Linked DNA regions of Homo sapiens: regions 1, 2, 4, 5, 6 and 7 are each linked to region 3. The links are contacts of gene promoters, found by promoter capture Hi-C in blood cells and fetal thymus (Javierre and others, 2016). All regions are on one chromosome and are shown on one strand. Each heading gives the region's core, a stretch centred on a gene start or on the middle of the fragment in contact. The rest is flanking DNA. Distances are from core to core; before and after follow the strand shown.

Evidence for each region. Contacts are between HindIII fragments. The CHiCAGO score rates a contact against its expected background, and 5 or more counts as called.
Region 1: a fragment that was not itself captured here is called in contact with the fragment with the promoter of SNHG5 in region 3 in 2 of 17 cell types (neutrophils and activated CD4 T cells); the score reaches 5.1 in neutrophils.
Region 2: a contact is called between a fragment that was not itself captured here and the fragment with the promoter of SNHG5 in region 3, in 1 of 17 cell types (neutrophils). The highest score is 5.6, in neutrophils.
Region 4: a contact is called between a fragment that was not itself captured here and the fragment with the promoter of SNHG5 in region 3, in 3 of 17 cell types (naive CD8 T cells, total CD4 T cells and naive B cells). The highest score is 9.3, in naive CD8 T cells.
Region 5: a fragment that was not itself captured here is called in contact with the fragment with the promoter of SNHG5 in region 3 in 4 of 17 cell types (neutrophils, naive B cells, total CD4 T cells and 1 more); the score reaches 9.8 in neutrophils.
Region 6: a fragment that was not itself captured here is called in contact with the fragment with the promoter of SNHG5 in region 3 in 1 of 17 cell types (naive CD8 T cells); the score reaches 5.5 in naive CD8 T cells.
Region 7: a fragment that was not itself captured here is called in contact with the fragment with the promoter of SNHG5 in region 3 in 4 of 17 cell types (non-activated CD4 T cells, total CD8 T cells, naive B cells and 1 more); the score reaches 10.9 in non-activated CD4 T cells.

Annotation. Positions count from the first base shown.
Region 1 is chr6:83,121,504-83,124,255 of GRCh38, reverse strand. DOP1A (DOP1 leucine zipper like protein A) reads right to left here. Exons shown (of 39, transcript NM_015018.4): 11 at 2,206-2,326; 12 at 1,274-1,393. Among named protein-coding and RNA genes, the nearest start is that of DOP1A, 55 kb to the right of the region's middle. The HindIII fragment of the contact is 3,912 bases long and covers 1-2,752 here.
Region 2 is chr6:83,147,282-83,150,132 of GRCh38, reverse strand. DOP1A (DOP1 leucine zipper like protein A) reads right to left here. Exons shown (of 39, transcript NM_015018.4): 26 at 2,842-2,851; 27 at 1,270-1,374. It also overlaps a transcript of PGM3 not described here. Among named protein-coding and RNA genes, the nearest start is that of PGM3, 45 kb to the left of the region's middle. The HindIII fragment of the contact is 7,536 bases long and covers 1-2,851 here.
Region 3 is chr6:85,677,445-85,680,276 of GRCh38, reverse strand. It overlaps SNHG5 (small nucleolar RNA host gene 5), which reads left to right and starts at 1,544. Exons shown (of 6, transcript NR_003038.2): 1 at 1,544-1,583; 2 at 2,089-2,141; 3 at 2,245-2,323; 4 at 2,402-2,482; 5 at 2,785-2,832. SNORD50B (small nucleolar RNA, C/D box 50B) reads left to right here and starts at 2,618; the gene lies at 2,618-2,688. RefSeq lists enhancers at 1,574-1,733, 1,904-1,963. The HindIII fragment of the contact is 13,479 bases long and covers 1-1,701 here.
Region 4 is chr6:83,165,520-83,168,620 of GRCh38, reverse strand. DOP1A (DOP1 leucine zipper like protein A) reads right to left here. Exons shown (of 39, transcript NM_015018.4): 39 at 150-759. The coding sequence ends at 454. It overlaps PGM3 (phosphoglucomutase 3), which reads left to right. Exons shown (of 13, transcript NM_015599.3): 13 at 1-3,101. Among named protein-coding and RNA genes, the nearest start is that of PGM3, 26 kb to the left of the region's middle. The HindIII fragment of the contact is 894 bases long and covers 1,002-1,895 here.
Region 5 is chr6:83,075,282-83,078,348 of GRCh38, reverse strand. The region is part of intron 1 of DOP1A (DOP1 leucine zipper like protein A); the gene reads right to left. Among named protein-coding and RNA genes, the nearest start is that of DOP1A, 9.1 kb to the right of the region's middle. The HindIII fragment of the contact is 2,053 bases long and covers 388-2,440 here.
Region 6 is chr6:83,056,331-83,059,221 of GRCh38, reverse strand. It overlaps UBE3D (ubiquitin protein ligase E3D), which reads left to right. Exons shown (of 10, transcript NM_198920.3): 2 at 1,200-1,396. Among named protein-coding and RNA genes, the nearest start is that of UBE3D, 8.1 kb to the left of the region's middle. The HindIII fragment of the contact is 7,857 bases long and covers 1-2,891 here.
Region 7 is chr6:83,195,263-83,198,423 of GRCh38, reverse strand. RWDD2A (RWD domain containing 2A) reads right to left here. Exons shown (of 3, transcript NM_033411.5): 3 at 1-2,829. The coding sequence ends at 2,152. Among named protein-coding and RNA genes, the nearest start is that of RWDD2A, 3.5 kb to the right of the region's middle. The HindIII fragment of the contact is 1,829 bases long and covers 787-2,615 here.

The DNA of each region.
Region 1 (2,752 bases), core at 18-2,517, 2.6 Mb after region 3:
AGGAAGCCTCTTCTGATCCAAGTAGTAGAGATCATTCCTCCAACAAACATTCACATTAAATCATAGAAATCCTATATGACCATACATTGCCCTCCACTCTGAAGACACAAAGTAAGAATATAATATAGTCCCTGACCAACAAGAATATAAGCATGTAGACAAATAAAAGCAACAATGTGACAGTGTGGAGGCATTGATTCTGATAGGCTATTTGAGGAAAGGAAGGAAAGGTGGGTAACCTCTACATAGGATTTTAGCAGATAGGCAAGGGGAAAGAGTATTTCAGAAGGAATAGCACAAGTGAAGCCTCAGCAGAATGAAAGTTAAAATGCTGCTAACTTTCAGAGAATAGTCCAGGTTGGCTGAAGAAGTGTGGATGTGTGCATTTGTGAATGTAGAAGGTAAAAACCCAGGGTAGGGCCAGGCGGCAAAAAAATACGATTCCTACATTTTAATCTATTAAGACATTTGTAATTTTTAATACTAGGAATATACGCGTGCATGTCTTATTTGTTCCCACTATAAGATCTTTGAAGACAGGGACTGTCTATCTGCCTAGCATGATGCTTTTTAACTGGGTGCTCAACCTCTGCTGAATAAGCTAGGAACTTTCTAAACCACTAAAGAGATTAATGTGTAGGAGCAACAATTAACATTTTTTATTAAAAGACTTCTAATGCTGAAATCGTACATAATTACATTTTGACTACATGCTCCTGGGCCTTGAGTGGTTAATCTGGTTGAGAGGATCTGGTCTAGAAGCCAGACAGAGATTCCACTCAGATTCACTAGTATCCTAGGGTTTTCAGACCATATTTTTTGCTTTATTTGCTAAGGGGTAGAAGGCTTTTATCACTTCCCAGTGACAGCATGGATTAGTTCTAATGGCTTTAAAAACACAAGTCAGGCCAAAAAGTTTTTTGTTAATCAAAGTGGAAATCCTTTTGGAAAAGTGTGCTGAGGCAGCAGCCAAAAATTTGCTATCTTTTCTACAACAAAAAAACTGGATTACTATAGACTGAAGACGGAAAATTTTTAATCTACTCTGGTGTATGAATAACTGATCTCTAAACTCCCTTCCAATTCTAAGATTATATGATCAATGATTTTATATCCTATGTGACAAGGTAGAGTCAGATTATGGATAGTAAGTAACAGTTATTATTAGTAATAGAATGTATAAAAGAACATTCATTAAATGTAACAACTTAAAAAAAACCCAAAGGTTAGCTTTAGATGTTACGAAATTAAAAGGAATGAAAGTTTAACATACCTACAACATTCTTCAAACCAGCGTGCAACATAATCCCACATATAATAAGGTTCGAAGGAATTAAAGAGAAGGTTAGCAGTTTTAATCAGCTCTGCTGTTTTCTTATTTTCTCTTAATTTACTGAAAAAAGAGAAAAGAAAACAAAAACTAAAAAATATTAACATTTGTTTTTTCAAATTTAAATTTGAGTGCAGTGCCAGTACATATTCCTAGGTAGTTGCTAGAAAATGTGCTAGTAAGAAGATTGCAACAAATAATTTTTATCTACTGCCACTCTCCTATCATTTTATGGGCAGTTATTTTTTCAAATTTGAATTTTTGTCAAACATCAAGATCAGAAATGAGACTTGCACAGTTTCTGCATAATAAAAAAGACAAAAGAACAAGAATTTCTTTTTGAACTATTTAGTGTGTGGGACTGTAAATTTGGCAAAATTCTTTTATTTCCCTTGGCACATACAAACTGAGTAGTGATTTGATTTTCACAGCCTTGATTGTGAAGAATTTTGTCTGCTTCCCTGTGCTATTCAGGATTTTCTTAAGAAAGGTTTACCTTGACCAGTTTCAATCAAATTATTATTCTTAGTTTGAAAAACAACAACAACAAAACCAACTAGTGCTGTTAATAGCCACTATTACTGAAATTGCATCAGGGAAAAAGAACTTTGTTATTTCAAGTGGCAACCCTTTAGCCTATTACCTATTTCCTCCTCCTGTCTTTTGTAACAATTAAAACAATTGTCTTTATATAGTGAGGCACTGTCAATACAACTAGTATGTCAGTATTAAATCAGCTTTACTAGTATTAAATCAGCTTTACTTATTAGAACACAAACTTCATAGAGTAGGATCCCAAGTTATTACACTTCAAGTTTATATTAAGTGAATACATATTATGTCTTCATGTCACATTTAATTTTTTGATAATCCACCTGCTTAACTGAGCATGATCCTTGCTGAAGGGTGGTTCAGTTTGAAGATCCAACTCTGCTTTGCATTGAGAATATAATGTTCTAAACACTTCAATCAGGACATCTTCTAGAATTACAGGTCCTAAAATTAATATTCAAATTAAAGACAGTAATTAATCAGCATGAGCAAATCATGCTTATCTGAAAATTGGCCCAATGAAACAATGTTTTAAAAACAAGTATTTTTAAAATAGTATTTCTTCAGAAGCTAAGCTAAATTCACACTTCTTTGAGAAGGTAATATAAGATATTACATAACTGAACAAATATTTAAAGTGCAGGTTGACACAATAGAAATTACAGAATCAGAGAAATTGGTTTTGCCAGTTAATAGTTCTGTTACATTAGACAAGTTATTTAACTTCTTTGAGCTTTAGTTTCCTCATCCAGAATGAGGATAATACCAAAATTTACAGGACTGTTAAGGGTTAGAAAAAATATTTGTAAGATGGGTAGCATAGTTTCTAGAATATAATAAGTATTCAACAAAAGCTACTTGTAATTACTG
Region 2 (2,851 bases), core at 274-2,773, 2.5 Mb after region 3:
AAAGTGCTGGGATTGCAGGCATGAGCCACCGCATGTGGCTTCTTTCTTTTCATGATCAAATATCCTCAAAGAAGAATCAACACTTACTTTCCCACACTAAGCATTTGCTGTTAACACATCTGTGCTGCTACCTCTCCAAACCCTCTCTCCAAAATCATCAGATAACTGGTGATTGGACAATTAGGATGCCTGTCCAGATTGTCAACAAACATAGCCTTTTATTATTCCTCACCTTCCTTAACCTCTCTGTAGGTGTTAACCATGCTCTCTTAACCTCCCTTTGGTTCTGGACAATCAAATGCCTGGTTTTCTTCTTTTTGATACTTCCCTTTCTATCTCCTTTGCTGGCCCCTTCTCCTTCTTTATCCTGTTCTTTCAATCCCATCAATAGTTGAAACCATCCCCACACTTCCCACTTGAAATAGAATTCCTAGTCTAGCCTCTTTCCCCTCTGATCTAGCCTACTACTACTAACATGCCAGTCATGTCTCTCCTCAAAAACCTGCAACCGCTCCCACTCCCTTTCAAGACCACATTCTTTAAAATAAAATTCAAGATCCTGCCCCATCTAGCTCCCATCTCCCTTTTCATTCAGTCTTATTTTCCACTATACCACTGCCTGTGCCCTGCTCTATTACCAAATCAGACAAGGTACTTTGCCCCAGAATACCCTTCCCCTTCCTGTTTCACAAAGGCTTTCTGTGCCCACCACCTCTATTCACTTACCAAGTATTTACTGGGGACCTATTAGGAATCAAGAATAATGGCAAGCAAGAAAGAGAGACTGACTATGACATCCCAGTACTTGCAGTCATAGGTGACTAACATTTATCAAATAATCATATAAATCACTAAGATAAATCAGAAAACTTCAAGACACAAAGAGAAAAATTTTCCCAGGCTGTTTAGGTTTGGGGCCCAGCTCAAGTGTCCCTCCTCTGTGAAGTTCCCCTTCAGCCATGCTACATCACCCCCTCCCCTTTCCATTCCATACTCTCCACCACCACGGAAACAGCTACTGTTGTAACAGTTTTATGTTAGTGTAGTTACATTTTGTATATGTATAAACATAGACTGTTTCCTCCTCTCACCCTGCCTCCCACTTTTTTTTTTCTTAAACAGGCCTTATACATCTAGTTTTGCATCTCAAGAACACTATGAGAAGGTAGAGAGATCACTGTCACCTAAAATATCTATTACTAATACTTGGCAACTAGGACAATTAACATTATCCTTTTATTTGAAATAATATTAAGTGAAATTGCTTACCCAAGTATAAGAAACTGCCCTGGAGCTGGAAGACTCAGTTGTATAGAGTCTTTCAGAAGTATCAACAGTGACGCCCAGCTATCCACTAAATTGGGCACTGGAATTCTGCAAGATAATATAGTTTATACAAAAGCCACAATAAACTATGGTTTTCTACTAGTTTGTGGAACATTCTCTAAATTTTTATAGACAATGATAGAACAAAATTCCTAAAAACTTTACATTTTTACTAACGTTAATTAGTAAACCAACACAGTTGAAATATCAATGCAATTTCTTTCTTTTTTTTAAAACAGAGATGGAATTTCACCATGTTGCCCAGGCTGGTCTCAAACTTCTGGGATCAAGCGATCCACCTGCTTTGGCCTCCCAAAGTGTTGGGATTATGGGCATGAGCCACTGCATCTGGCCCCAGTGCAATTTCTTTTTTCTTTTTTTGTCTTTTTTTTTGAGATGGAGTCTCACTCTGTTGCCCAGGCTGGAGCACAGTAGCGCGATCTCGGCTCACCGCAGCCTCCACCTCCCCGGTTCAAGCAATTCTCTCCTGCCTCAGCCTCCTGAGTAGCTGGGACTACAGGCGTGCGCTGCCATGCCCAGCTAATTTTTGTATTTTTAGTAGAGACAGGGTTTCACCATGTTGGCCAGTATGGTCTTGATCTCCTGAGTTCGTGATCCGCCCGCCTCGGCCTCCCAAAGTGCTGAGATTACAGGCGAGAGTCACCGCCCCTAGCCTGCAATTTCTTAATCTAGAAATTTTTCTATTGAAATCCCATTTATCACATGGGATCTCAAAAGTAAAATACAACTGCAGTAATTCTCAGTTTAACTACTGATACCACAGTCATGTACTCCCTAGCCTGGTCTCTCCATTTCCCTCTTAGTTCTTTTTCCTTCACCTTGTACGTCTCTACCTCATATTATGGAGGGCTGTCAACTGAACATTAGTCTTTAACCTGTAAAAATAATGAAGACTATCTTTGTTTCAGTCTGACCTTAACCCTAACACCTCTCTGTATATAAGTTCAGATTTTAGGCAGTGCTTGCTCTAGGTCACAACCAGTTTAAATACACTCAATAGCCTGACCTTATAATGCTAGTCATAGATTACAAATGGAGGCTGAGTTTGGTGAATAAAATGGAATTATCTTATAAAGGAGGATGAAGAGTCAGGTTCTTGAGTAAGAAGTTATAAAAACTCAAATCATAACTTCTGTTCACAGGTCAGTTAAACGCAAAATGGAATATGATAGTAAGAAGATATTTCATGTAATCATTCCTAACATTAAAAAAGCAGAATGAATTACTGTATGTTCACCTATACCAAAATAATGGATTCAGTGGCAATATGCATAGTTTCGAGAGTAGGTTCAACTTTTCATTTATGTTTAAATGATTTTATCACAATTCAGTGTTTTACTATCTAGGAATCTTCAATATCCTTAGGTCTTTAGGTTTGTAGGATATACATGGCTGGGTCGTTAAGACACTCATTACTTATATTAATATATCCATAAATAATGTTTCTCTGTTTCTAGCAACATAGTAAGGACAGATCAATATCAGTAATCTTACCTTTGAATAT
Region 3 (2,832 bases), core at 295-2,794:
TTTGTTAACTCTTTTTAAAAATTTTTTTAATACAATAGAGACAGGGTCTTGGGCTCAATCCTCCCACCTCAGCCTCCAAAAGTGCTCTAATTACAGACATAAGCCACCACACCCGGCCTACTTTGCTTCTTATATCCTTTTGTACTGTATTGTTTGTTTTACTATTTACTATGAGCAATATGCAAATTTATGTAAGACATTACAAAGTAATACAAAAACCGACAAAATGCCCGGCCCAGTCAATACTTCATCATATAGGTTCCTGTTAGAGAAAAGTGCTTTTCACTACTATCTTTGAATGTGAAGTTTGATCTTCATTCTAATTTTCTAAAAAGCCACCGAATGTATTTGTTCATTCATTCATTCATTTAACCATTACCGACAACCTACTTAATGCTAGGCACTGTTCTAAGAAAAAATAAACAGCAGAGCACGAAATCAGATGTGTTGCTCCCACACTCTAGCAGAATCGGACCGTAATCAAATGCACACATAAACAACTTTAATAAGTAGTGCTTTGAAATATAGAAGTGAAGAACGACCTGAATTTTCAAATACTGAAATGTTCAAATGTCGTGTGCACACACACACACGCAGACATATTCACTCGAACATGCTAATTAATCAAAGCACTGCTTTTGAATTTTGTGTTTGTCGTCTGGATAAAGTATTCAGGGATACTTCTCAAATTAATCTTTCTCTCGTTTTCAATATAACTAATTGAGTACAAAGAAGTTAAAAATTAGCAAAGCATTTCAGCTGTGTGACCTTAGGCAAATTACCTGGCTGTTTTAAGCCTCAGTTTTCTCCTCTGCGAAATGGAGTATTGAACCTCACGTTCGCTGTTTGAGGGAGACTTGTATGGTCACGTTTAGTGTAACCGGATGCCTGGCACGAGGAAGCGTGAGGAGGAATGGATCCCCATGGGGCCTTGATGCCCGCCCTGAGGCCCTGCAGGGCCGCACGCCGGGGCTGTTCTCACGTGGCGCTTTCCGCTTTTTCACCCAAGCGTTTCTGCCAGCCAACTGCCCTTTCCCGGAGTGCTGCGGCCAGGGCTCGCCCGCTCCTCCGGCGGCCTCCGCTGGGGGCCCACTACAGCCCAGCGCCAGCCAGCCAGCCAGCCCAGCTTCTCGAATCGGTCCTAAGCTGAGGCCGCCCTGCGCTGCAAAACTTGTGTCCACTCTCGGACCCAATCTGTCCTGGACGGACTTGGCTCGTGGCAGGCGAAAGCGTCGTTTCCAACTGCAGCTGTTTGAATTCTGGCGCCACACCCGCGCCACGTAGGGCCAAGTCGGCCGCCAGACTCGTAAGAGACGCTTCGCAGTGCGCCTGCGGGCGCGCGCCGGGAAATGGCCGGGCGCGCGGCCGGCCTGCGGCGCGCTCCACAACGCGGAACGGGCCTCAGAAGAGCCACCGCGCGCGCTCCCGCTAATTCGCGACCACACCCCTGTCTACTTCCATGTCCAATAGGTGCGAGAGGGCGGGACGGCCTCGTTCTGACTCCGGGAGGCTATATAAGGAGCTACTGGCTGCGCACTTCGGTCTTTTACGTCGGCCTTCGCGAGCGTCTGGGCGGGTGGTAGGTGAGTGGGTATTGCGGGCTAGTATCCGAGCAAAAGATGGTGGCGCAGGCCGAGTTAAGAGCTTTAATCCTGTGAAGACATCTTAGTGAAGAGTTTAGAGTGCTGAGAGTTGAAAGCTTGCACGTGGGAAACGTGCGGCCGGACTGCCACATGTACTGAGGTTGAGTCGTGACGGCCACAGGCTCCGAGTTTTGGCGTGAGGAACCGCTGATCGGCCACGGGCGCCGAACTTGCTGGCCTCCGGCATGTGCCTGAGCGGCGGCGGAAAAACCACCTTAATTGGGGCGGAGGGTTAGTTTTAACAGCAAAGGGCCTTTACTAAAATGGCGAAGGCCTTCCGTCGGCGTTGTTTTAAAATGGGAAGCCTCGACCCTGTATTGAAACTGAGCTGTTCGAAGGCGGCGTTGTGTGCAATTCGGATTAATGAAGGGGAAGGGTTTTGTGTGGAAAAACGCCTTGGAGTGTGACATTTCTGCGAGAATGCTTAAATACCGATTTCCCGCAGGAACAATGGCGCTGTCTTCAGTGGCACAGTGGAGCAGCTCTGAAGATGCAAAGGTAAGAGCTTAGTTAAGCTTAGTTTCCAAACTAAAGGAGTAAACCTGTTGATTTACAGGAATAGGAACTGTTGCATCGTTTGAAATTTACTTTTTTTTGTTAGATACACGAAAAAACTTCCAGAACATCTGGGAGAATATTTAATGGAAAATCGCTTGGTTAAAACCTGACACTTTTAACAGGTATGTGTTGTTTTAGTACTTTATGATTGAGCATAGCATTTAATCCACACCTAGACTAAATCAAATTTTTTTTGTCAGTGAACAGCGTTCTGAGTGTGGACGAGTAGCCAGTGAAGATAATGAATGTCGAATGTGACTGACTAGCAGCTTCATTTTGAAGTAGGTTGTATGGCTTAAAAGTTCTGTAGTATTTGTACTATAATACTTGCCTTTTAGCATTACCTTGGTTTGTAGTCAGTGTCACAGAAGTGCAGTTTAATGTATTATGTGTACATATACAAGGTCTGATTGGTCTAATCAATGATGAAACCTATCCCGAAGCTGATAACCTGAAGAAAAATAAGTACGGATTCGGCTTCTGAGATTAAGACCAGTAATTCAGAGGTGGAGTAAATTTTGTTGCCGTGATTTTATAACAGTTGTGTTATAAAATCCTGGGTTTTTTTTTTTTCTGCCAACAGTGAGGGTCGCTGTCTGCCCATTGATAGAGGCCAGATTGTCTTGGAAGT
Region 4 (3,101 bases), core at 199-2,698, 2.5 Mb after region 3:
TGGTGAAGGTATGTGGGAGAAAAACTAATTATAATACGTTTCCCAGCCTCTGATGGAGAAGGAACACCATTCTGATACCAGAACATGGTTAATAAGGAAAAGAGAAAAATCCCCAACCAATCTTAATTGAACCAAGTCTGAAACCAATGGAAAAAAAAAATGGGTAGTGTATATTTTGCAGGTTTAAGACAACTCAGGACAATAAAAACAATGGACTTTACATGTGTATATATATAGCTCTCTTAGGCACCATAATCAGTATGAGCCAACAATATTTAAACTTGATTCAGGCCACATTCAGACATTTGCTCTTATATACAAATATTTAAATTAAATACAATCTGAAATGTGTTCTGTTACATACAAAAAAGGAAAAACTATACAACGCAGAGCAGTGTGTGTGTTTTAAATAATTACATTTACATGTAAGCTAAATGGAACCAGCAATGGTGCTCAAGTTTTTATCATCCCTTCCAGAAAATCTTTTTCTACCATCTCTTCTATTTTTTGCCTGGCTTTGCTGGAACATGGTTTGTGGTTCTCCAGTTTCATGTCCTTATTAGGGAAGGCATTTGAGTAGAGGATAGGACTCCCTGAGTGTCCTCCACATCGGCTTGTGACTTTGCTGTTGAAGACTTGACTGAGCACATTGAAGAACGGCAGGAGCTGCTCCATACTGCGCACGGTGCAGATGGTGAGCAGCAAGTGCCCTGGCTCCCAACCCAATGTTCTCCCTGAGTTGTCTTCCTCTGGATTTTTCTGCAGAAAACAAAAAGTGAACTGGTATTAATACAACAGACAATGTGGTATGTTAGAAAAATTAAAAATATATAAACTTTGGCAATTGGTCAAGAAATGAATACAAATGACATTAAGTTTCTAACTCCTGACCTGATCAAAACCCTTGGTGCTTCTGAGACCTTTTACTGCCATTTATTAGTTTTACATGGAGCAGTCTAACATTGTAGTAATAGTTCCCAACTAGAATGCGCAGATAAGCTTAGTTAACAGAAATAGCTTTGAACAGGAATAGAGTCAAACATAAAAGTTTTATGTTGTGCTTTGTATTTACTCAAAAAGCTCCCAGGTTTCTGAACCCTCACTACTGTAACCAAGGACTAGGTCACAAAATTACTACAGAAAAAAGGAACAAAGTGCTTTATACATTTCATAATATATCCCCTTTTATTATAATTAGTTAATTCCCTTTTATCTAAATGGCCTAAATTTGCCATGATGGTAGCAGTGTCCAAAGTGAATAATTACTGTCAGTACTGCATCACAGAGAAAGGAAGGGATCCCTCAGGAGACACTGCTGTCTCCTTCTGGGTTGTGCTAAACAACATAGGGAGGAAAGCTGGACCTGGAGTCAAAGGAATTGAGTTAGTGTGCTGGCTCTGCCATACTTACGGCACCCTTGGGCAGGATATACAAAGGTTCCTCACTTATAAAATGGGACAGTCTAAAACTACCTTTTAGTAGAGAAGTCAAATGAGAAGGTATGTGAAAACTCTGTCAACTAAATATAAAGACTAATAATTTGGGTATTAAGAGGCTAGTTTGAGAAGCCACCTGAATTACACAAACACAGCTACAGACATCATTCTGTCTAGAGAAAGATAAGAGAGAACAGGTTGGTTGAACTTGGGCAGAATCACAGATACAATTCCACACTAAAGAATGAAAATAAGCAATGAACTAGACAGAAGGAAGAAATCATGAAGACTTAGGAAGCAGAATTACAATCTGTCATATTAACAAATGGAGTTTGCCTTCTAAGATCAGATGTTGCTCAGAAACTTTCATTGTTTACCTAATAATTTAATATCACTAGTTTCCTAGTGGGTCAAGCAGATGCAAAATCCAGCTTATTTTCTTCTATGTGCTCTCAAGCTTATTGCTTATTTTAAAGTAAAATCCTGAAAAAGGAAAATATTAGGTTGGTGCAAACGTAATTGCGGTTTTTGCATTGTTGAAATTTGCCGTTTTATATTGGAGTACATTCTTAAATAAATGTGGTTATGTTATACATCATTTTAAGCATATTTCTCACTTTTTTTTTGCTAATGACTTATTGCTGTTTATATTTATTTTAGACTATGGAAATGATGTTAGACAAAAATCAAATTTAGCGATTTTCTGAGTTCAAAATAGGTTATAAAGCAGCAGAGACAACACACAACATCAACAATGCATTTGGCCCAGGAACTGCTAATGAACATACAGTGCCGTGATGGCTCAAGAAGTTTTGCAAAGGAGACTAGAGCCTTGAAGATGAGGAGTGCAGTGGCCAGTCATCGGAAATTGATAATGACCAATTGAGAACATCATCGAAGCTGATCCTCTTACAACTATAAGAGAGCTGCCCAAGAACTCAATGTTGACCATTTTATGGTCGTTCGGCATTTGAAGCAAATTGAAAAGGTGAAAAAGCTCAATAAATGGGTGCCTCATGAGCTGAGTGAAAAATAAAAAAATTCGTTGTTTTGAAGTGTCATTTTCTCTATTCTATGCAACAATAATGAATCATTTCTCTATCGGATTGTGATGTGTGCCAAAAGGTGGATTTTATACGACAACTGGCGATGACCAGCTCAGTGGCTGGACTGAAAGAAGCTCCAAAGCACTTCCCAAAGCCAAACTTGCTCCAAAAAATGGTCATGGTCATTGTTTGGTGGTTTGCTGCCAGTCTGATCCACTACAGCTTTCTGAATCCAGGTGAAACCATTACATCTGATAAGTATGCTCAGCAAATCAATGAGATGCACCAAAAACTGCAATGCCTGCAGCCGGCATTGGCCACCAGAAAGGGCCCAATTCTTTTCACGACAACACTGGGCCGCACGTTGCACAACCAACGCTTCGAAAATTGAACTAATTGGGCTATGAAGTTTTGCCTCATCTGCCATATTCACCTGACCTCTTGCCAACAAACTACCACTTCTTTAGGCATCTCAGCAACGTTTTGCAGGGAAATTGCTTCCACAACTAGCAGGACACAGAAAATGCTTTCCAAGAGTTCGTCAAATTTGGAAGCATGGATTTTTATGCTACAGGAGTAAACAAACTTATTTCTCATTGGCAAAAATGTGTTGATTGTA
Region 5 (3,067 bases), core at 165-2,664, 2.6 Mb after region 3:
TGATAATCCCTGGAAAGCTCTTTAGCTCAGTGTTAACTTAGCGTATAAGAAGTGCTCTTATTACTGCTATAATTGTGATATTCATTTTCTTAGACATGAAATGCAAGCTGTTAGCCATATAAAGCCTTCATAAAATAGACCCATTCCTTCAATCTTATTCACACTTCTGTCCCAGCTAAGCAAAACCTAGGCAATTGTCCACTGTTCAAGACTTGCTCCCTCCCATCTCAGTGCCTTTACACATGCTATTAATTTTGTGGATAGAATTTAATTTTCTATTAAATTATACTCAAACTCAAAATGCTATGTCTCTGCATGATACCTAGTGATTCAACCCCTTTGACCTAATTTTTAAATCAGTATCTTTTTCAATATTCAGAATAAGCTTGTCCAACCCACAGCCCAGAACAGTTTTGAATGTGGCCCAAGAAATTCGTAAACTTTCTTAAAACATTAAGAGATTTATGCATGGACCTTTTTAGCTTATCAGCTATAGTTAAGTGTTAGTGTATTTTATGTGTGGCCTGAGACAATTCTTCTTCCAATGTGGCCCAGGGAGGCCAAAAGTTTGGACACCCCTGATTTAGAAACATGGCTTACATGACAGTATAAAATGTAAAAAATGTACATATGCTTCATGTTTCTAGAAGTTTAAAGTCCTTTTTATTTTTTTGAGACAAGGTCTCATTCTATCACCCAGTCTGGAATGCAGTGGCACAATCATGGCTCACTGACGTCTCTAACTCCTGGGCTCAAGCAATCCTCTTGCCTTAGCCTCCTGAGTAGCCAGGATTACAGGTGGGTGCCAACATGCCTAGCTAATTAAAAAAAAAAAATTTTTTTTTGTAGACAGGGTCTTACTTTCTTGCCCAGGTTGGTCTTGAACTTGTGGCCTCAAACGATCCTCCTGCCCTGGCCTCCCAAAGTGCTGGGATTACAGGTATGAGCCACTGTGCCCAGCCTATAGTCCTTTTTAAATTGTTTTTAAAGCATATAACATTTACCATCTTTTTTTTAAGGGGTCTTGCTATGTTGCCCAGGCTGGTTTTGAACAACTGGGCTCAAGCAATCCTCTGGCCTTGGCCTTCCAAAGTGTTGGGATTACAGGAATGAGCCACTGAGCCTGGCCAAAATTTACCATCTTAACCACTGAGTGTACAGTTCAGTAGTGTTAAGTACATTCACATTATTGTGCAACCAATCTCCAGAACTTTTCATCTTGCAAACTGCAACTCTATACCCATTAAACAACAATTCTATTTTCTGCTTTTATGAATTTGACTACTTTAGATACCTCATGTAAGGGGAACCATATTGTATGGGTCTTTTTATTATAACTGGCTTATTTCACTCAGCATAATGTCCTCAAGATTCATCCATGTTATAGCATGTGTCAGAATTTCCTTTTTTAAGGCTTAGTAATATTTCATTCTATGTAGATACTGTATTTTGCTTATCCATTAATCCATAGATGCACACATAGGTTGTTTCTACCTCTTGATTATCACGAGTAGTGCTGCTATCAACATGGGTGTGCAAATTCCTCTTCCAGATCCTGCTTTCAACTCTTTTGGATATATCCAAAAGCGGGATTGCTGCATTTAGAGAGTAATTTTTTAAACTTTTTTTGAGGAATGGCCATACTGTGTTCCACAGGGGCTGAACCATTTTACATCTCTACCAACAGTGCCCAAGAAGTTTCTAATTTCCCTACATCCTTGCCAAAACTATTTTTTTTTTAATAGTAGCCATCATAATGGGTGTAAGGTTAGGTATCTCTTTGTGGTTTTGATTTGTATTTATCTAATGATTAGTGATCTTCAACATTTTTTTTTCTTTTGAGATGGAGTCTGCTCTGCCTCCAGGCGGGAGTGCAGTGGTGCGATCTTGGCTCAACCTCCCAGGTCCAAGCGATTCCCTTGCCTCAGCCTCCTGAATAGCTGGGACTACAGGTGTGCACCACCACGCCCAGCTAATTTTTTGTATTTTAGTAGAGACCGGGTTTCACCATGTTGGCCAGGATGGTCTCAATCTCCTGACCTCATCATCCACCCACCTCGGCCTCCCAAAGTGCTGGGATTACAGGCCTGAGCCACCACACCCGGCCTCAATATCTTTTCATATGTTTGCTGGCCATTTATATATCATCTTTGGAAAAATGTCTATTTAAGTCCTTGGCCCATTTTAAAATTCAGTTACTTTGTTGTTATTGAACTGTAAGAGTAGCTCTTTCTTTATATATTCTGGGTATTAGCCTCTTATCAAACACATGATTTATGAATATTTTCTCCCTTTCCATAGTTTGCTTTTTCACTCTCTTGTACTCTCTGATGCACAGAAAGTTTTAAGATTAATACAATCCTATTTTTTATTTTTGCTTTTATTGTCTGTGCTTTTGCTGTCATATCCAAGAAACTGCCAAACTCAATGTCATAAAGCTTTTCTCCTATGTTTTCTTCTAGGAGCTTTATAGTTTTAGGTCTTATCTTTAGGTCTTTAATCCATTTTGTGTTAATCTTTGTGTATGGTATAAGATATACAACTTCATTTTTTCACATAGGGATATCAGTTTTTCCCAACACTATCTGGTGAAGAGGCTATCCTTTCCTGACTGAGTCGTCTTGGCACCCTTGTCAAACACTGTTGGACCGTATAAACTAGTGTTTATTTCGGGGCTCTCCATTCAATTTCATTGATCTATATGTCTGTTTTGGCCAGTACCATACTATTTTGATTACTATAGCTTTGCAATAATTTTTAAATGCATTTTTTGAGAGCCACCCTTTTATTCCTTCTGTTTCAAACACTAAATCCTAACTTGACCTGACAAGTACCTACTTATCCTTCAGGTCTCAGATTTTATCCCTTTTGGGAAGTCTTCCAGGACCATTCCACCATTCCCCTAACACTCACATATACACCTCCTTCCTGTGAACTCCCATGACATGCTATACTTCCTCTATCATAGAACTTACCTTGCTTTATTGTAATTGAACTGTGACTCCAGGGGTGGTAATCGCTATAACAGAGAGACCTCATCTGTCATTTTAGCTCTCAAATCCCCAGC
Region 6 (2,891 bases), core at 264-2,763, 2.6 Mb after region 3:
TTTGTAGAGCCAGAGCCTTGCTTTGTTGCCCAGGCTGGTCTCAAACTTCTTGGCTCAAACCATCCTCCCACCTCAGCCTCCCAAAGTGCTAGGATTAGAGGAGTGAGCTACCTCGACCTGCTGATTTTACATTTTTTAAGGGTTGTTTTTTAAAAAATAAAAAGTATAATATGTATTCTACTTTGAGACCATACATGGCTCATAAAGCCTAAAATATTTACTATCTGGTCTTTCACAGAAATAAAGTTGCTGACTCTTGTTTTAGAGGATCATTATTTCTTAAACACCATTTCTTGAAATTGAACTTTTGACTCAGGTTTGAAACTGTCATCCCTGCAAAAAACTCAGATGCTTAATATTCTGTATTGCTAACTAAGTGCAGATCCATATGCTTTGAAAAGGAACTAGCCAGAAAGTAGCTATAAGATTTTCTAAGGCAGATTTCTAAGGCCTAACCAAGATCCACACCTGAGCACATGGTCTACCCTCTGTACTCAGATGACACTCAAGCAAATGGCTTGCTGTCTGCACTTAGTTGACACCATGTGGATGACCTGCTGTCTGCACTTAAGAGGGAGCCATGGTACTTTGTACCTCTGTTGCATTGCTAAGCGTATTGCAGTTTCAGAGGAGGGTCATTTCCATAGATGCCTTTATCCCCTCTATACTTTTGATGCCTGGGGGCTTTTGACAGGGACTGTGTTTTACTCTTTATTGCCTATACTGAGTAATTTGTGTTTGCTCTGAATTGGATTAGTAAGTCCTTTCACACCTGATATTCATACATCACTGTATCGTTTTCTTCATTAATTCTTTTTATTCTTAAAATTGACAGGTTTTTGTCTTGTATCATTGTTTCACTGAATCTTGGTCTCTTTATTAAAATCTTGTATATGAAATAACAGTACTTTGCTCTGATTTACTATAAAACATTATTTTAGTGCTCTTCTCAGAAGGAAGAACCAAAAATCTGTCCCAGGACTTGCATATTATGGTGATGGTGAAGGGCACTCTGATCAGATCTAAATCTAGTGTAGGTTGCTTTCCTTTATGATCTGCTTGCTGCTGTTTTTCTGGGGCAGTGACTTTAGAGCTCCTATTGAAGAGGAAGAAAGAGATCCTTGGCCATTTTTGTTTCTTTCATCATGTGGTTTTCATTGTGAGAAATAATTTGTTTGGGTTTTGTTTTTAATTACCAGAGAACCGAAAGAAGGAGGTATGCCCATGAATATTTCCATAATGCCATCTTCACTCCAGATGAAAACCCCTGAAGGCTGCACAGAAATCCAGCTTCCAGCAGAGGTCAGGCTTGTACCTTCCTCTTGCCGTGGGCTACAGTTTGTTGTTGGAGATGGACTGCACCTGCGACTGCAGACGCAAGCAAAATTAGGCACAAGTGAGTAATATTAGCACTTCTGCTGCTGTATTTACCTTTTTGTTATAAACCAAAGGTGATTTTTCCTTTGATAAGTTGAACTTTTCCCAGGTGAAGGGGTTGAGAAGCTCTAGGGTCTTTGTCAGCTCTGCCAGTTATTGGCTGTATGCAATTGAACATGTTACTTAACCTTTCTGAGGCTTCTTCCCTCCCTCCCTTCCTTCTTTCTTTTCCACCCACAGCAAAATTGAGCAGAAAGTATAGAGATTTCCCATTTACCCACTGCCTTGTTTCTTTAATTGTAAAATTTTCTGGCTCACAGATGGGAAGATTAAATCAGATGGCAGTTGTATAAGACCTGATTGATTTTAAAGCATTACATGGAAATTTATTCATTCAACAAATATTTTGGTTTGTGCTATGTGCTAGGCATCAATCTAGGTTCTGGGGATACAGAGTGAACAAGGTAGGGGAGGTGTCTGCTCTCATGGAGCTTACATTCTAATTGGTGGGAGCAGATAATGAGCAAACAATTTAAATATTAAGAAAAGTGTTATGATAATATAAAACAGAATAATGGGATAGGGAGTGACTAGGGTTGGCTGAAGGATGATCAGTGAAGGCCACTCTGAGGAGGTAATGTTTGACCTGAGTCCTGAATAAGGAAATCCTATCCATGTGGGGACTGTTCCAAATAGAGAAAACAGTACACAAAAGGTCCTACAGTTGAGTTTGATACTTAATTTGATTTTAACTTTTACTATGCCTGTTATATTTACAACATTTTGTAACTGGTATAATGATTCGGTAAGGCAGTGGAAAATTTGCTTTTTCTAAGACCTCAGGGTTATTTATTGTATAAAATTATTGGTTCATTACATCTATTACAATGTACGTAATATATGCTTTGGGGGATTAAAATTATGTCAAAGGGGGAAATAGGCTGTAAAAGACTTATGTGATGTTTATTATCAGAGAAAGATTGTAATTCTTTCAGCTGCACACTGACACTTCGCTGCTGCCTCATCTGTAATAAACCTTTCATCTGCGCTGTGTGGATCCTGGAGATGGGGTCAGGAGGAGTGTTTGGAAGAGCCATTTAGGAGATGTTGAGTATTCCCCTGAGTCTGTGCTCTTGGCTTTTGTGAGGAAAGAGAAGATAGAGAGGGTTTCATTTCTTTTTTACTGGAGAGCAATTTTTGCTCAAGTCCTGGGTTAGTGAATAACTAGTTTGAGTTGGGCAGGGTTAGTTTTAGGAACAAAGGGTAGGGAAAAGAGATGTCATGGCACTTAAATGTTGTAGGATAAATACTAGGAATGACTGTTGGAATAACCATAGCAAGAAGGTTAGGGTCACCGAGCTGGGAAGTAGACTCCCTGATTGCACCTAATAATGGGCAGAGAAAGTGTTGTTTCAGGGAAGAGGCCATGGGAGGCTGGATGTTGTGTTGTCATCACCTTCTCCTTCACAACAGTTACCTCTTTCACAAGAGTAACCACAGCAGGAATTTTGTGT
Region 7 (3,161 bases), core at 452-2,951, 2.5 Mb after region 3:
ATACTATCTGCATTAGTTTTCCTGATAGGAAAAAAAGTATTGCAGAATGCTCAAATTAGACTTATTTATAAAAAAGTAGGTTCTGAAAAATCTCAGAAATAGCTCCAGAAGCAGTAGAGTTCATAACCTAGAATTTATTGCCTTTTCTTTACACCCATCTTTCTGTAGCTACTTTTGCTCATGTAATCAGGAAAAACACCTCTATAAGGTAGGTTGATGGCACATATTGATTCATTTGGATGGAGTTACATCTGTTGAAGGCCTAAAACTTGTAAATGCGAATTATACTTATTGATAGCTTTGTGGAGACTGTGGGGGAAAAAGATTCCTATACTTTGTTGTTTTTAGTGCTGGCAAACATTAAGAAGTGATTCCTTGGCAATGTAAGTCCTATTTCTTCCCTTTGCATATAGGCAAAGTGTCAGGCTCCAGCCTGAGTTCCAGCACAACCAAGGCTAGGATGGAAACATGAATGGCAAGCTGGAGGACCTGGCGGGGCAGGCCTACAGCGAGCCATGGGTTGAAGATCTGAGTTGTGCCCTGAGAGGACACTCATTGTGACCTAAGAAGAAAGAGGCAGTACAAAGTGGACCCAGTTCTAACACCTCCTTGGGATAGGGCCTCCTGCTCCATCATGTCCTCTCTGTAGCCCAAGGACACGTCTGCATCCACGGCACAGAGGGTAAAACCAGATGGTAGTTTCATCAGAAGTTCTGTAGGCTCCCCAGCACAAGCAGCACTGTCTGACATCTAACAGGATGTGTTCCTAAATCCCAGCACCAAGCTTTGGCATCTTGAGAGGACCCAGTAGGAGAATGGAATGCCTCCCGGGAAAGGGCAGCAGTAGCTGACCACAGAAACACGGAAAGCTGCAGAGGCTGCTCAAGACATCTCTTAGCACATGAGACTCGCAGAAATACTTGGGGAGGGATGGAGACCTGGTAATGAAAAGGCTTGGCAAGAGCTACTTAAATAGCGGTTTTTAATCATTAAAATAAACTCTCATTTTGAAAAGCCTGGTGAAGCCTGTGGAGCTTGGAATTTTCAGAGGAGATGGCAGTAACATCATCGGACTGTAGAATTAGATTTTTTTTTTCCCAATAAGGTAATGATGCAGATATCCACACTGGTCCCCTCAACAGTCTCTTGCCCTTTATAGTAATGCATACTGGCACACAGGCAAAGGTTGGATTGAAACAGGCGAATACTTTGTAGACAAGGAACCATGTGTTTATCTTTTCTGGATAAGAATTAAACTAATACTGGTATCAGGATTGCTAGTATCATGAACTGATATAAACAGCCAGAACACATAGCATTGTGTGTCATCTTTTAACTCGTGGGACTTCATGTCTATGAGTCCTTTGCCACTGCTATTAGGATCTAGTTTTACTAAAACACTCGAAATAGGAGTTTAAAGTAAGAAATGAAGTAAACGGGCTGGGCGCGGTGGCTCACACCTGTAATCCCAGCACTTTGGAAGGCCGAGGCAGGCAGATCACGAGGTTAAGAGATTGAGACCATCCTAGCCAACATGATGAAACCCTGTCTCTACTAAAAATATAACAATTAGCTGGGCGTGGTGGCGCACGCCTGTAGTCCCAGCTACTTGGGAGGCTGAGGCAGGAGAATCGCTTGAACCTGGGAAGCTGAGGATGCAGTGAGCCGAGATCGCACCGTCTCAAAAAAGGAAGTAAACATGTCCTTCCTGTTCTCATTTTAAACTTGATTTAGATTTCCAATAATGAAAGACAAGTGGGTGTGTCACATGTGTGCTAGCAATGTGAAACAAATGCTATTCATATTTCTCAATTCATAATTGCAGTTTGATTTTTGATGTTAGTTATGGGCTTTGGATTCCTCTTCAATCAAATCAGCTTCACAAGTTAAATGGATTGTTTTTATTAATTTACAATGAAATAGTTTTTGAATGACTTCACACAAAAACCTAGAGATAACATCACAATTGCAATGTTATAAAGTTTAAAGGCCTATTCATTTCACTGTCAGTTGAAATTCGTTACCAGGTGAAAATTCTGGAGCTGGGTTTTGCACTGAGGATGCTACACAGCCACTAGCCTTTTTAATTTGGTCTTATTAACAGAAATACTGACTTAGTGAAATTACAGGCATAGGCCTCTTAATCGCTTTTTATGAGTCTGAACTTTTGCTTTCAATACCAAATAGTATCTGAAAAACATGCTCACTTTTGTGCTTCTTGAGAAATTCTAAGAATTGGCCCAGATTCATGTGATAGTCATTCCTTAATCCATAGTCACCATGAGCCTCAAGGAGTAACTCTTCAAAAGAATGGAAAAGGCGCAGGTCCTCACCATTTCCTTCTGTCTCCACGCTTTCAGCATGCTTACAGGAAATGTGCTTCCAATTGGGGTACCTAATTGTGTGCCAGAACTCCTCACAGTGCTCTTTGAAACCCTCCACACAGATTATACCAGGCTTTCCTGTCATGCAAAATCCAGTCACATCTAACCTTTTCCCAACATCCAAAATCTTTTTCCTTAGGTCCTGCTGATATATATGGTGACTGTAGATCCACATTCGGAGGAATGTGTTCTTGACTGGCTTTGCTTGTGTAGATGGTTCATATACAAGCTTTCTGTTCAGGAAATAAGATGCACTGTTGTCCTGTAGCCACTGGATTGCTGCACATACACAGAGCTCACCTGGATCAAAAGTCCCTATGTAAGAAGTGAGACCTTTGTTGAGAAGTAGCTGCTGATGTCTGTCAAGTTCAGATGACCGTCCAAACAGCTGCAATGCTACATAGGGGTAGCTGTGAGGCATGGTCACTTGCAAATCAATTTTCACCTTAAAATGAAAATCAAATAGATTTAAATACCATAACATCACATAAGCTAGTTTATCAATAGCAACTGCATGATTTTGAGAAATGTTATTGCTACTATTAAATGTACCAGGTACTTTACATACATGATTGCTTCCTTTTATGCATTATTTCAATATTTATTGAACAACTACGTGTGCCAGGTGCCCTTGTGCTGGGATAAAAAAGTGAATAAACCAGACACTATTTTTGCCCTTCATGAAGTCCAGGGCCTAGTGAAGGAGACACACATTAAACAAATAATTACATATAGCAAGTATTTAATTTCAATTGTGAAAAGCATTACCATGGAAAA